2 separate regions of the Homo sapiens genome follow, and region 1 is linked to region 2. Evidence: promoter capture Hi-C in 16 types of primary human blood cells and fetal thymus (Javierre and others, 2016). All regions are on one chromosome and are shown on one strand. Each heading gives the region's core, a stretch centred on a gene start or on the middle of the fragment in contact. The rest is flanking DNA. Distances are from core to core; before and after follow the strand shown.

The links. The method cuts DNA at HindIII sites, captures the fragments that hold promoters and counts their contacts. A CHiCAGO score of 5 or more calls a contact.
Region 1: a fragment that was not itself captured here is called in contact with the fragment with the promoter of POMP in region 2 in 6 of 17 cell types (naive CD8 T cells, fetal thymus, total CD4 T cells and 3 more); the score reaches 7.6 in naive CD8 T cells.

Annotation. Positions count from the first base shown.
Region 1 is chr13:28,142,640-28,145,339 of GRCh38, reverse strand. All of the region lies in intron 1 of PAN3 (poly(A) specific ribonuclease subunit PAN3), which reads right to left. Among named protein-coding and RNA genes, the nearest start is that of PAN3-AS1, 4.8 kb to the right of the region's middle. RefSeq lists an enhancer at 394-688. The HindIII fragment of the contact is 7,623 bases long and covers 1-2,700 here.
Region 2 is chr13:28,657,772-28,660,471 of GRCh38, reverse strand. It overlaps POMP (proteasome maturation protein), which reads right to left and starts at 1,342. Exons shown (of 6, transcript NM_015932.6): 1 at 1,285-1,342. The coding sequence starts at 1,287. RefSeq lists a silencer at 1,410-1,469 and an enhancer at 1,690-1,849. The HindIII fragment of the contact is 5,788 bases long and covers 1-2,700 here.

The DNA of each region.
Region 1 (2,700 bases), core at 45-2,544, 520 kb after region 2:
AAATTGTCAAAAAAAAGTCAAAAAATTGAAAGCCAAACCATTAAGTTAGGCACGATCTGTAATATGTACACACATACACACACACACGCAAGTGCAAATAAGACCGTGGAAATGTAAACAAGTAGACTACAGCAATCAATACTGGCCATGATACTGTACTACAGCTACAAAAGATGTTACTATCCTTTATAAAAGAAGAGTACATGAGATATCCGTATTGTATCTTACAATTTCGGGTGATTCTATAATTATCTCAAAATAAAAAGTTCATTTAAAATTGGGGGAAAAATTCCTCAAAATGGCATATAAAAGGATGATATTGGGCCAGGCGCGGTGGCTCACGCCTGTAGTCCCAGCGCTTTCGGAGGCTGAGGCAGGTGGATCACGAGGTCAGGAGTTCAAGACCAGCCTGGCCAAGATGGTGAAACCCCATCTCTACTAAAAATACGAGAATTAGCCAGTCGCGGTGGCAGGCTCCTGTAATCCCAGCTACTTGGGAGCTGAGGCAGGAGAACCGCTTGAACCTGGGCAGCAGAGGTTGCAGTGAGCCAAGATGGCGCCAGTGCACTCCATCCTGGGCTACAGAGTGAGGCTCTGAGGAAAAAAAAAAAAAAAAAAAAAGATGATGTTTTGGTTTGCTTTTGATAATCATTTATCTTCTTAAAGGGTCATTTCAAATGCACTTTCAGTCTATGATCATACCACTCTGAACACGCCCGATCTCATCAAATGCACTTTTACAGGAAAAAGTGCTTTATTTGTTAACTCAATCTCACCTGGAGTTACGTTATCCCTCGAGTTTTCCTCATAAAACTTATCGAAACCGGCCGGGCCCAGTGGCTCACGCCTGTAATCCCAGCACTTTGGGAGGCCGAGGCAGGTGGATCATGAGGTCAGGAGATTGAGACCATCCTGGCTAACACGGTGAAACCCCGTCTCTACTAAAAATACAAAAAAATTATCTGGGCGTGGTGGCGGGCGCCTGTAGTCCCAGCTACTCAGGAGGCTGAGGCAGGAATGGCGTGAACCCAGGAGGCGGAGCTCGCAGTGAGCCGAGACTGCGCCACTGCACTCCAGCCTGGGAGACAGAGCGAGACTCCATATCAAAAAAAAAAAAAAAAAAAAAAACAAAAAAACTTATCGAAACCAAGTATTACCTTATAGATATTTATAGCCCCACTAGAATGTAAACTCCATTAGGGCTGAATTATGTTTTTTTGTTGCTGTTGTTGTTCCTATCACCTTAATCAGAGCTTACCACCTTGGAAGCAGGATATTAAATGAGTGAAATGAACAGTATTATAAAGCCTTCATGATATACTAAGTATATTATTCCAATAAAAATGTTTAAACTTATGCCAGCTATCCTAACAGCAAATCGCCAGTACTCACTTCTCTGTCACTTAGTATAGGTTTGTGGGATGAAAAGGCTAGTCTTGGCTTAAACAAAAACAGCTTTGCCACACGCTACACATTACATATTCCAAAGCTAACATTTGAACTTCAAGTTATCCATGGCACTGCTCTCCTCCATTTGGACAATCACAATTCAATAATCTGTAGCTATTTTACTAGTCTTCAATGTATGCCCTCAAAAATTTGAAGAAGGAAATACAGAGGTTAACTATAGATTATTAATATTTAATAATAGCAATAACTAAGACTGAAACCTCAATATGTGCAGGCAATGCCATGCAATTTTCATAACATCTCCATTTTCCAGATGAGAAAAACTGAGGCTTAAAGGTTAAAAATTCGTTCAGTCACAAAGCTAGTCAAAGAGCCAGGATTCTATCTGAAACATGTCTTATTCACTAGTAACTACATTAGGAGAATTGAAAAGTGTATTTTGGTAAATTAAAACTACTGGGTTTCAAATAATGTACATAAAATACAAATATTGGCATATTTTACCTGTTAAAAATTGTACACTTTGAAGATTAAAGCCATTTTGAAAATCTAGCCAGTTGAAAATATTAGAATTACATCATTAAATGTCAAGAATCGATAATGCAGTTGAATACAAATCAAATCACTCTTAAGCCTTAGAAAAATCCCAAGACTAACAGAAATACGAAATGTTACGTAAGCTACATGGTACGGCATACCTGTAGTCCCAGCTACTCAGGAGGCTGAGGTGCTAGGATCACTTGAGCCCAGGAGTTGGAGTCCAACCTAGACAACACAGCAAGAACTCCCAACCCCCTCCTCAAAAAAAACAAAAACAAAAACAAAAACAAAAAATCAAATTGCAGTTTCCTTATAAGGTTGAAACATCATTGCAACTAAGTGTATTAAGAAAAAGCCTTTGTGCTTCAGTTTTCCAATGGCTGCAAAATAAAGATAAAGTTTTCTCATGCACCCACCTCCAAGGTTTTAACACTATCTGAAACACCAACAAAACAAAAACAATTCTGCAAATGTGAAGTGCTAAAGTTAGAGTCAAAACCTCAAATGCCTAGATATAAAAGTCATCCAGTTAGGGAATGAGTCAAAATGGAGAGAATTATGCTCTATCAACAGCTCTAATTCCAACACAGGTAAGAGACATCCTTAAAGGGAAACCAGAAATTTGTACTTCTATATTAAATCTTTTGTTTCTTTTGTTGTCAAATGATTCAATCAAAACCCACAAACATAGAAATTAAAAACACTAAATTATGGTATATATGGTGGCTCACAGGGTAGGCAGATCGCTTT
Region 2 (2,700 bases), core at 93-2,592:
GCCTAGCCTACCTTAAATGTGCTCAGAACACTTACACTAGCCTACAGTCGGCCAAAATCATCTAATACAAAGCCTACTTTATTAAAAAGTACTGGGTATCTCATGTAATTTATTGAATACTGTACTGAAAGTGAAAAACAGAATGGCTGTATTGGTACTCAAATATGGCCTCTACTGACTGTGTATGGATTTCACACCATCATAAAGTCAGAAGATTGTTGAACCACCAGAAGTTGGGGACCTTCAGCAGAGATGTGTGATTGTTGCTTTCCAAATGTATCTTCTATTACTTCCCTATATGAACATTCTCCTCCTTCTGGACTGCTTTATTGTAAAGTAACAAGGTTTCAACGCACAAAGAAAAGGTGAATTCTGACTTCTGGATTCTGTTATTGTCATTTTTCCCAATTTCCTTCTGTAAAATATCAAGATTAGTACTTGCTGTTTCTAATAAAGGAAGGAGCCGAGAAAGGCAAATCTACGAAAACCTAACTACTAGTTACATTTGAGAGTGCCTAAAAAACTTTTTAGATAACGATTAGCAGTATTTACCAATAGAAACTTTCTAGATTTGGATGGATGGCCTACCAGCAGTACCGATATCAGAGTCTGTGGCAATGGTGACTCAGTGTTCTTCTCAAATACCACAACTTCTAAGTTAAAAAGAAAGAGAAAGTGGTGGGGAGGAGAAGGAGGGAGGAGATATACTAACAATACTGGCAAACAGGGAATAGCAACTGTCTGATTTTTTCCCCTCTAACATCTAGCACACTACAAGCTCTCAAAAAAGTTTGTAGAGCAAAGCTGCGTTACACAAATGCGACCTATAGTTGTGGGCTGTTTACTAGGCAGTTACAAGGGCGGGGGCTGGGGGAGATGAGGAGTCTGAGAGCTCTGGGCTCCCAGAGGTTACCCGTCAAGGAAAGGGTCGCCAGCGCCACCCCACAGAACGTTGCACTTTCACGGCTGCCTTTTCCACTTCTGCGCCAAGTAAGGGGAGGAGGTCTGGGCCTGCTGGGGTCTAAGGGATGGAAGGGCGCAAACCGAGCTAAGAGGAGCAGGATGAAGCCGAAGCACTGCTAGTGGGACTAGTGCCGGGCCCCGGCGACAGTCACGACCCACCCAAACCCCGTGACTCGACAGATTATGGCGCCTGAGGCCGGCCTCAGCCCCACGCTGCCGCCGCCGCCGCCACCGGGGACGGGTTGGGAGGCGACTGCCTGTTTCTGCCGAGCCACGGTCCCGAGCCCGCGTGGAACTCCAGCCGCCCGGGTACCCACTCACCATCTTCCGCAGCTCTGCGAACAGCCTCTCTGCCCCGTTACCGTCAGTCGACCCCGCCGCTCACTTCCGTTTCCGAGGGCTGGCCCCCACATCCGCCGGAAGTGCGTCCGTCCTGGCGAGGAAGGAAGGAGGGCGCGGGACGCCGGAGGGAGCTGCGCGGGGCCGAGGCTCCCACGCTTGCAATCCCAAGGGACCCAGGGCCAAGGGCGCAGTAAGGGTGTGGGCTGGGAGGAGGGAGGGGTCGGGACGAGACGTGCCTGAGGGGAGGGAAGACACGGACTCCGGTTTATTAATAAACATCTACGGTTTGTACGGCATTTTAAGATGTGCAGTGTGCTTTTGTAGGTACATCGCCTTATTTAACACAAAACCTCTCTGAGGTAGCTATTACATTTCACAGAAGGGTAAACGAGGCGTAGGTGGTTTGAGTGATTTGCTTGAGATCGTTCGGCTAATAAAGCAAAATTGGGACACAAGGCTTTTGTCATTTTTAAAAAACATAATATTGAAGGCCTGGTATGTTCCGAACCCTGTGCTGAGGCTAGGAATACAAAAAAGGACCAGGCCGGTGTGGCCTCTGGGCTAGAGGAGCAGGGGTACTCCGGAGGCTAGAGGGGAGAGAGGGGACGATAGTGACTACAAATTAAGTAAATGTGATCATGACCGACATATGTTGGGCCCTTTGAATTGCGTTATCAACACAGTTCTAAGTGCTTACATCCTTTATCTCTTTTAATCTTTTCAATAACCTTACAAGTACAATTTACAGGTGAAGAAACCGAGACATGAAGGGCTTAAATAAATATGCCTAAGGACATATTTATGAGTCTAGAATCCATGCTCATTACACTATTCTGTATTGTTCAAATATAATGTAATAAAACGGCCTTATAGTCTGCTGCCACAGGATGGAGACATCTTAGGGAATCTTTGGACTGACAGCTAAAAGATAAGAGCGAACTAGTTTGGGGTAGTAGGATATTTAAAACAACATTACGTGCAGATCTGCTTGTGCAAAAACGGAACTGGAAAGAAGGCCTAAGTCTGGCTAAAGTTCAGAAAGTAAAGTGGAGAGTACTGTGAGATGAGGTTGTAAGTAGATGGAGGCAAGTGGTTTTTGTTGTTGTTTTTGTTTGTTTGTTCTAAATAATGATAGGGTTTAGCTATGTTGCCCAGGTCTGCGTTGAACTCCTGGGCTCAAGCGATTCTCCTGCTGCAGCCGGCTGAGTAATGGGAACTACAGGCGTGCATCATGGGACCTAGCTACAGGTTTTTTATGCAGCCTTTGTAGGCAAGATTAAGGATGAGGCTTTGTCTTTAAAAAGCCATCGAAGGATTTGAGAGAGGAAAATGATAAGGCCATATATGTTATGTATATCCACTGCCATGGTCATACAACTTTGAAGTTCCAGATGT